3 separate regions of the Homo sapiens genome follow, and regions 1 and 2 are each linked to region 3. Evidence: promoter capture Hi-C in 16 types of primary human blood cells and fetal thymus (Javierre and others, 2016). All regions are on one chromosome and are shown on one strand. The core of a region is centred on a gene start or on the middle of the fragment in contact, and the rest is flanking DNA. Distances in the headings are between cores, read along the strand shown. Region 1 overlaps RPP30 (ribonuclease P/MRP subunit p30). Region 2 holds the start of ATAD1 (ATPase family AAA domain containing 1). Region 3 holds the start of KIF20B (kinesin family member 20B).

Region 1 (3,323 bases), core at 638-3,137, 1.2 Mb after region 3:
CTTGTATGGTGAGCTGGGCAAAATCTTCAAGGGCACTTCCATCTTTTTTGCTGTGCGGCTATAAGCCCAGTGAAAAATCAGGGGCTTTATTACTAAAGAAAAAGGAGAGGACAGATATCTGGGCAATTTGCAGGCTTTGCAGTAATGCTTTATAAAGGTATTGTAGTAAGGATTAAATATTATATATAAGACTCTCTTAGCATATAGTCAGCACTCAATTAACTATGGCTGTTATTCTCTCTTCAACATATAGAGAATAAATTACTTACCTGAAAGACCTTCCTGCCCTTGGTTCTTTGGGCTTTTTTCAGCTCTTCATTTCTTTGTCTCTTTGTGCATTCATAGGTCAGATTACTTGGTTTACTATGTTTGTATACAGTTTACTGTAAATGTAGGGAGTACATTTCTGTTTTCCTTTTGATAGTTCATGGAGTAGTAGCCCCTCTCTCACGCCATTGGGACTTTGTTCTTCTTAGCCTCTTCATAATTCCTGTTTATGTAAAGTCAGCTTCCCCACAGCCAAGTTAAACTCTCTTAATCAAGTAGAGCCACGGATTTATTTTCTTCTCCTTGTGGGTGGTGCCATTTGAGTGTTGATCTGTCTTTCATAAAGCTGTACCTTGACATGTAAGGGGTCAGTAGTAGGGAGTGAGGAGGGATGTGAAGAGAGAATCAGTGAAAATGAAGTAGGCCAGTGCATGCTTATCTCTGACAGTTCTCTTTATTTCCTGTGAAGGCGATTGACCGAGGCCTGGCTTTTGAACTTGTCTATAGCCCTGCTATCAAAGACTCCACAATGAGAAGGTATACAATTTCCAGTGCCCTCAATTTGATGCAAATCTGCAAAGGAAAGGTATGGTTCTATAATTTTAGGATGTTTTTCGCATCTGGCAGTTTATTATTAGTAGTACACTGGAATTGTCAAACTGACTCCTTTTCCTTAAAGCAGAATGTTCTCATAGCATAGGAACAAATTCTGCCATTTCAGTGAGCTCTGCAAATTTTAAGGGAAAGAAAAATACCAAGGGAAGAATAATGTAAGGGAGAAAAAGATGTGTTGGAAGCCATATCTTTTGATAAAAATTTGCAATTTACATACTGTGAAAGAAAAGTCTAGAATAACAATGGTCCTCACTGAGTTGAATTAAGATATGTGACCTTTTCATCTTGTTTTTTAAACTTAATTCACCTTTACTAAGATCTGTTAGGAAAACATATTTTGTTTTTTATTACAGATTGCCTTTAGTTTGACATGAAGTCTTTTCATTTTTTTCACCTTAATTATTTACCTTATCTTTAAAAGAAGTTGGTATTTGAGCCTTAAATGTTAAAATATGATTACTGGCTATTTATATTATGAAACTCCTTTTTTTACATTTATCTAAGATTAATATTAGTCACTTTCTATTTTGTAGAATGTAATTATATCTAGTGCTGCAGAAAGGGTAAGTCTAGCATGAAGTACTTTGTTTTCATCTTTCAGGTTATAAAACTTTTCAGTTTCTAGGGGATAAATTAAAATAGTAAATGAATATTTGTTGCATTTTTTTCTATTTTAACTGCATTTGCTCATTGTAATTGCTAAATAGTAAAATTTATCCCCACTTTCTTTAGGCTTCAACTTTTGTTTATATAATCAGTTTTTCTTTTATACTGTTACAAAATGCCTTTCAAGCTTCTCTTATATTTTCAAAAGCTATGAAACCCATCAAAATTATAAGGACTTAAATTTATGTAATTTTTTTATTTTTGGATACTTAAATTTTCTATTAATTTGCTATAAGTCATTGAAATGTTATAAATAATTTTCTCATATCTACTCTTTGTTCATTTTATTTCAGCCTTTAGAAATAAGAGGGCCATATGACGTGGCAAATCTGTATCCTTTTCTGAGTAAAAAGTTGTTGACATTGTCTTTCAGGAAATTTTGAATTTGAAGTCGTATTATAGTTGAACATGTATTTTTCTCAACCTTTTACTGTAAGTTTACCAATTAATAACTTCAAAAATAAATTATATAACATTATAGAGAGCTTTATGCTTCTGTTTTTTAATTAATCATGAGATAGAAAAGAGGGAATGAGGGACTTCATATGATAAAAGCTTAGAGTTAAATGAGTCTTTTCTCAGATGCATGTTCCAGTTGGACTAAGAACTGCTGTTGAATTAATTAGCCTCTCAAGATGACCAGGTTAGCTGGCACTTTCTGTTATGTTTGTGTTAGTCTCGTGTCCTTGGGTGACTCTGGGTTGAAATCTTTAATGCTCCCCCAAGAGGCTTGCTGTTTGGGCTCTCTGAAAGTGACGCCAAGGCTGCGGTGTCCACCAACTGCCGAGCAGCGCTTCTCCATGGAGGTAAGCAAGTTCTTCCAGTACAAACTGAATGGTCATGTTAAAAGCAAGTCATTTTTACAGCCATACCTATTTTTATTGCCCTACCCTACAGAGTTCCTTTGGGATCATCTTTTCTCAACCTGTTCTAAACACAGTCATCAGTGTTTTCTCACCCTCACTTCAGGCTTTACTTTCTAAAGTTTGTAGAATGAATATAGTTTTCATTACAGAAATAAGTATTGAATAGTTCTTCCAGCTATACATGTGTGCTCCTGCCGACATTTTGATAGGCTTCTAATCTCCCTTCCTTCTTCTCCCTCACCAGAAGGCCATGCTTTCCCTGTTGAAAATCTCTGTTTTAGAGAACGGATATGTTAAAAATATGTGTTAAACTATTTATTAGGAAAACAAAACCAGCAAATACATTTTTAAAAATCCAACTAACAAAACATAGACTGTAACTTTTACATTTATTATAACTCAGAATGTTTCTTTTCTCATGTTTGCTTACATGGTCAAGTTGTGTCCAGACTGTACCTTTTTTATTTTTTTTTCTTTTTCTAAATAGAGACAGAGTCTCACTATGTTGCCCAGGCTGGTCTTGAACTCCTGGGCTCAAGCAATCCTCCTACCTCAGCCTCCCAAAGTGCTAGGATTACAGACATGAGCCACCATGCCCGGCCAGACTGTACATTTTTTACTCACATTTTGTATATGTACCTTTTCACTGACTGAGTTTCCTGCTCATCAGATGTTAAAAATTGAAAGTATGCTGAAACTTTGGAAAATGAAAGTGAAATTTTATTAAAACAATTTAAGCTTTTGATCACTGTTTTGTCTTCGTTATCTTTATAATTCTTAGGACTAGTTGTAGTGGTTAAGAAGCAATTTCATTGATATCACCCAAGTGAATTTTAAACTTCAAAGTAGATTGCTACATATAGACTGAGTTATTTGTCATATGAATAGCTAGGTTATTGAGGGCTTGTG
Region 2 (2,951 bases), core at 82-2,581, 1.9 Mb before region 3:
CGCGCCTGTGCGACAATCAGACCTGGTTCATTCCAGCCGCCTTCGTCTAGGTTCGCCTGGTTCTGAAGTCTTCCGGGACGACCTCAAACCCCCACAGTGACCAGGATGCCGACAAAGATTCCCTCGGGAATGGCACGAGTCTTGGGGAAGAGCTAAGCAGACCCTAAGGGCCCAGGCCGGGCCGGACGCCAAGGCGAGGCCCGGGACGCCCTTGGAGGTTAATCCTCTAGATACTAAGGGCTGCGGGGCGCTTGGGGGCGGCACTGAGGTAGGGCGTGGGAGAAGACCGGGGTGACCTTTCCTCCGGGGGTTCCCAGGTCCGAGACGGTCCTTAAAGGACCTCAGAAGGATACGACAACCATCCCATGAGGCCCCACGGGAACCAGCTACTCACCCAGGGGCAGAAACAGCAAGAGCAAGTGCCCTCAGCCGGCCTCACACAGGAAGGAAACGCAACCTGGGAGAGAACGCTTCCGGCGGGAGGCGCGGCGCACTCCCTCCCACGGAGCATGCGCGACCCGCGGTCGCCGGCGCGGAGGGGGCGTGCTCCCAGGCTTAGAAACAGTGAGGGAGAGCAAATTCGCGCACCTGATGTCTGCTTAAGCTACCTGCTAGACTGAGACTTTCTGCGAAGCCGGCGTGTCTGCGAGCAGCACTCGCTAAGGCTCTGCGTTTAACAGACACTACCTTTGGGAAGGCGCTTATCACAAAAAGTCCCTGCCCTTCTCGCGGGCTCGGGGCGCAACCCTGACAAATCGGGCAGCCTTCTTGAGAGTGCAGAAATGCTCTGCGTACCCAGCAAATACATTCTCTCCTTCCCACCACTCTGTGCAAACCCTCACGCCGCGGCTTTGTGTCTGTACTTTAGCCAAAACGCAGAAGCTTATGGCCACCCTCCACTCCTCACCCCTCATCCCTCACCACCTGCCTTTCAATTCTCGGGTGAGCTCACCCTTCTCCCCCATCTCTGTGCTGACAAACACCTCGGGGTGGCGCCTGACAATCTTTCCGCGAAAAGATTTAGCAGCCCACGCCACCAGACTCGGTAGTTAGGACGGAATAGGGCATCTGGTAACAGATTTTGCATTTTGGTGATTTCCCTTTTTCTTTCACCCCTTTTCCTTTCCAGAACGAGCGACGTGACACAAGAGGTCCCAAGGGAGCAAACCTGAAAGCCAGAGCCTCCTGAATACACAAACTGCCGGTGGGCCAGATGACATTAGACACTCCTGAGATACGAGAAGCATCACTTCCTTCAGACAGAGTCGGTGAGACTATGATGTAATGAGAGTTCTCCCTGTGTTCCTCAGGAAGGCAGCTTGTGCCTTTCTACTTGAGGCATCATCTTTGATGGCTAAAGAATTCTGCAGCTTGGCCAGCGCGGTGGCTTACGCCTGTAATCCCAACACTTTGGGAGGCCGAAGCGAGAGGATCACTTGAGGTCAGGAATTCGAGACCAGCCTGGACAACATAATGAGAAATCGTCTCTACAAAAAAAAAAAAAAAAAAAAAAAAAAAACCACCTAAAAATTAGCTGGATTTGGTGGCGCATGTCTGTAGTCCCAGCTACTTGGGAGGCTGAGGTGGGAGAATCGCTTGAGCGTGGGAGATCACGGCTGCAGTGATCAAGCCACTCCACTCCAGCCTGGGCGACAGAGCAAGCCCCTGTCTCAATAATAATAACAATTTTGCAGCCTGATTGTTAACGAATGTTACTAGTTACAAACTTGTAATAATGTGGTGAAGATAATACCTAGTTAATGTCTGCTGGGGTGGGGCAATAAGCTTCTATGTGCTTTACATGCATAACCTAAATATCTCCCCCAAAATCCTCTAAAATAGCTATCATTTTCTCCGTTTTTACAAATGAGCAAATTTTAAAGCTTAAACCTTAGAGAAACTTTTCTAAGTTCATATACTTGGGAAATAAAGGCAACAATTTCATTGGAACATAGGTCTGTCTAATTCATACCTTGTACTTTACGTTTTCTCTTTGAGATGGTAATTTAATACCAGCTAAACTTTAAAATCTAGTTGAAAGTAAGACCATGAAATGCCAAAATCACAAGGCTTTAAAGGATGGGATGAAAGGGATGCATGAATGTTGAAAACTATGATTAAGTTCATGGACAGGAATCAGAATGGAATTGAATACACCCGTGCCTGTTTAGTATTTAAGGCTTTATATACGTGCATGCCTACATTCCTAATTTAAAAAAAAAATGGATGTGAAGCTAGGTTTGGGATTACTAGACTATTTAGAGAGATAGACCTTTGAGAAGAACGGAAAGATTATGAGACGAGGACAATGTTCATTAAAAACAAACAACAACAACAACAACAAAAAACAGAGGCTATCAGTGCTCAGCAGACTTTCAAGAGACTCTCCACTGGGTCCTTGGATGATCCCAAGCTGAATCATTGCTTGGGAGGCTCATGGACACATGGTTTGGCAGGGCTAAAAGGGGGAGGGTCACTAAAGGCAAGAAACAGGTTTTGTGCCCCAATAGGGTAATTATATCCACTGGTAAGGAAAATGAGCTGAGAAATTCAAGATAGTAATGGATTTTCATTCATTTACTGAGTGAAATTGGTTCAACTAAGAGCCTCACCTGCCCTCTTCTAAGGACCAGGGTGACCAGCCTACCCAGTTTCAGTTTGCATGAGACTAAAAGGTTTGCTGGGATATAAAACTGGCTGACAAAGTCTCAGGCAAATCATGAGTCACTCTACTAGAGACATCCTAAATGAATCCTACAATGAAATGGAGTTCCCAGTATGGTTACATCTAGTCTCAATTCATCTGCCTAATATTTGAGGGATGATTGCACAGGAAGGGAAACTGTTGAATAAAGTCACGAGGCTGACCATAAAGAGTCTACAAGCTCGAAAAGTGCTACACCTCACTCCCTTTCCAGTGGTTCAGCCACTGGAAACCAAATGCCTACACC
Region 3 (3,243 bases), core at 102-2,601:
CTGTACAGTTAGTGGGGAGTGAGGTCGGCTGACACTTGATTGTGCAGGACCTGGGAGGCCATGGTAAAGATCAGAATTCTATTCCTTTTCCCCCCTCCTCTTTTTATTTTATAAAATCTGTTATTTTAGAAAGTTGCAAGACTGGTACGATGTACACCATTATACCCTTCAACTAGATTCACCAATTACTAATATTTTGCCACATTTGCTTTCTCTATTTTTTTGCCATATCTTTTGAAGGTAAGCCGCAAACACTGTGACACTTTGCTGCTAATTACTTTAGCAAGCGCCTTCCAAAAACAAAGGCATTCTTCCACTTAATCACAAATTAATTCTCACATGCAATCAATTTAAAACTGATTCAATATCATCTAATATGTAGTTCATATTTAAATTTCCCCAGTTGTCCACAAATGTCTTTCGAAGTTTTTTTTTTTTTTTAAAAACTATGAACCAGCCAAGATTCACAAATTTCATTTGGTTTCTTTTGACTCTCGACTAAAGTAATTTTCCACTTCGTTTTTTTCTTTTTCCTGTCATGACACTGACATTTTTGAAGAGCCTAGGCCTGTTGTCTTGTAGAATATTCTACATTGTTTTTTTCTGATTGTTTCCTCATGATTAATGTCAAACATTTCTAGCACAAATACTATCGGGTGATATTAGCGATGCTAAGTATCTTCACTTGGTTAAGGTATGTCTAATAAATCTCTTCAGTGTAAAATTCTATTTTCCCTTTATAATAAGAAATGATCTGTAGGGTGATTCTTTGAGATACTAACATCCTCTTCCCTACAACCTTTCAGTTAATTGTTTGTTTTAGCATCTTGCATTCATTAGTTTTAGCATTCATAAGCTTACCTATATCAATTTTTAGACTGGCAGTTGCACAATGGGGATGCAGCGAGGGAAGTGACCCTCCGGATCCCGGGATGCCGAGCCTTTTTCTGCCCCGTAGGGACAGGACTGGGAAGTGGCTAGCCCGCCATTCCTCGGCCCGTCCTTAGGGGAGTCGCAGGACTAAGTGCAGTGGCAGTGGCCTCACCTCGGGCCTTCGCCACATCTTTATTGCCTCAAGGACAGAATTGGAGATCGGTGTCCCAGTCAACAGCGTGGTACTTATGACAGCCGCGAGAAAGCGCACTACTAAAGCCCGGCTAGCAGAGCTGGGAGGCAAACCAGACCGTCAGCACCAGGGCGGCCCACGCCTGCTTCCGCCCATTGGCTGCCCGCGTTTCAAGACCCGCCCCCATATTGGAGAGCTTCTTCCGGTAGCCACTGGAAAGCCCGCAGCGCGAGCCGGCTACGCTCCCTGGCGGAGCTCTGGACGCCCCACCTACTCCCAGCGTTCAGTGCGGTGCCCTGGCCGCCATTGTTTGAATTTGAAAACGGTAACATCGCAGTGCTGCTCGCGGGTCTGGCTAGTCAGGCGAAGTTTGCAGGTGAGGAGGTGACCCGCGGGAATGTGTGGGGAAGGAGGTGGGTGACTGCGCATGTATGGGGCCTAAGGTGGGGAAACGGCTTTGGCAATGTGGACATGTTCCGACAGGGCTCATACCCCAGTGGAGGTTACTGTCAGGAACTGGGTTGCGGAGCGATGCGAACACGGGGTACGCAGCGAGGAATGAGTCATACTAATTCGGTTACGGTTTAAATCTCGCCTCCACTGCTAATTAGCTGAGTGACGCAAGACAATTCATTTAATCTCTCTCTGTACCTTAGTTTTCTTATCAGTTAAAAGGCTGCAATGAAGTGTCTATTTCTTTCGGCTTTTGTGAAGATTAAATGGTAATGTGTAAAGTTATTAGTGCTGGCACACAGTAGGTACTAAATGTTTGCAGTTATTAATATTATTATTGTTGTTGCTTCTGTTGTTGTTGAGGAACAGGCCTGTTTTGCCACACCTAGTTTTCTGAAGCTCTGAGGTGAGCAGTTTGCTCGGCTGGTAGGTAACACGGCCTTTTTGCGGGGGGAGCCCTGTGGTAGCCTCTGTGCACTTATTTCCAGACTACTCCTACTGGTCCTTGGGGCTTGCCCTTCTAGGGTTTTGCAGTGCCAGGCTGAAGAGTTTGTGGCACAGTGACTGCTGTCATTCCCCAGTTTAGAAGGCTTTCTCCATCTCGATTCGCTCGCTGGTTCAGTGATGCATGTCTGGCACAGTTCTCTTATATTTCTTGCTAAACTACTAGTTTACAGAAGTTCACGCCTTATGGGTTAGGTAGTGTAACAGTGTATTTATCTTACATGTCCAAGACTCCAGATTTTAAATTGTAAAAATAACATAAAATACTCATCGATTAGTTGTGAAGACTTTTTTTGAGGCTTTGTGTTGTAGACCACATTCAGAAACCTCATTCAGCAACAGATTCTGCTATTTTTCACCAAAGTCTCCAATTGTGGATTCTTATTGGAGAGAGGGTAAATATGCAGTTTTCCAGTCAGAGCAGCCTTTTGAAATGAAAAATGAGGTCTTGGAGCCTGCTGTCACGAAAGATAATATTACAGACTAGGACCGACTTTTTTTTTTTTTTTTGGAATAGTATTTTCTTTATAACCATTATTTTAAGTCATTAGGTAGTCTTTATCCCTGCATAAGTCGCTGAATTTGTTATAGGGGATACAGAGTGGTATAAGGCAAGGTTCTTGCCATCAAGAAGTTTCCAGTTTAGTTGGGAAGGCCACGTATAAGTAGAAGTCATCTAAAATCGCAAGAAGTTACAGTAAGTCTGAACACTTTTAGAAATGCTAGGAAGTAGTTTGTTCATTGAAAAATGAGCATATGAACAAATACTTTATTATAACTGCTTTTAGTACATAGGAATATTCTTTTTAATTCAGCAATTTAAAAGATTTATCAACACTTTTCTTTAAACCAAAAATTATTATTTGAAGCCACAGGTGTTTTTTAGTTTTCTGGGCATTTCCATGAACTCTGTGTTATGAAATGTCAGGCCGGTACTTTAACGTTTTGCAGATGCTCCCCCCTCTGCACCCCCTTACCCATGATCTAGATCAGTGCTTTCCTTAGTCTTTTTGCAATTTAGGGGAAAAAAGTCAACTATGTTCTTGTGATACGTTTAGGAATTTCAGCCTGATCAAGGAAAAAGATTGACAACAAGATGGCAGGAATAAACAAGGATTTTGACAGGATTGTAGGCAAAGGAAATCCGTCTCAGTTTGGGACCTTTTCTAGACCAGGGTGAGGGGCCACCATCTAGAGGGGAAAGAGGGCAAGGGGAATGG

Evidence for each region. The method cuts DNA at HindIII sites, captures the fragments that hold promoters and counts their contacts. A CHiCAGO score of 5 or more calls a contact.
Region 1: a contact is called between a fragment that was not itself captured here and the fragment with the promoter of KIF20B in region 3, in 1 of 17 cell types (total CD8 T cells). The highest score is 5.0, in total CD8 T cells.
Region 2: a contact is called between a fragment that was not itself captured here and the fragment with the promoter of KIF20B in region 3, in 1 of 17 cell types (activated CD4 T cells). The highest score is 5.2, in activated CD4 T cells.

What each region holds. Positions count from the first base shown.
Region 1 is chr10:90,894,039-90,897,361 of GRCh38, forward strand. RPP30 (ribonuclease P/MRP subunit p30) reads left to right here. Exons shown (of 11, transcript NM_006413.5): 7 at 737-853; 8 at 1,416-1,445; 9 at 1,842-1,879; 10 at 2,275-2,354. Among named protein-coding and RNA genes, the nearest start is that of RPP30, 24 kb to the left of the region's middle. The HindIII fragment of the contact is 428 bases long and covers 1,674-2,101 here.
Region 2 is chr10:87,817,773-87,820,723 of GRCh38, forward strand. ATAD1 (ATPase family AAA domain containing 1) reads right to left here and starts at 454. Exons shown (of 10, transcript NM_001321967.2): 1 at 395-454. It also overlaps the pseudogene CFL1P1. RefSeq lists a silencer at 552-601. The HindIII fragment of the contact is 903 bases long and covers 881-1,783 here.
Region 3 is chr10:89,700,239-89,703,481 of GRCh38, forward strand. KIF20B (kinesin family member 20B) reads left to right here and starts at 1,352. Exons shown (of 33, transcript NM_001284259.2): 1 at 1,352-1,442. RefSeq lists a silencer at 874-953 and enhancers at 998-1,513, 1,514-2,030. The HindIII fragment of the contact is 4,302 bases long and covers 855-3,243 here.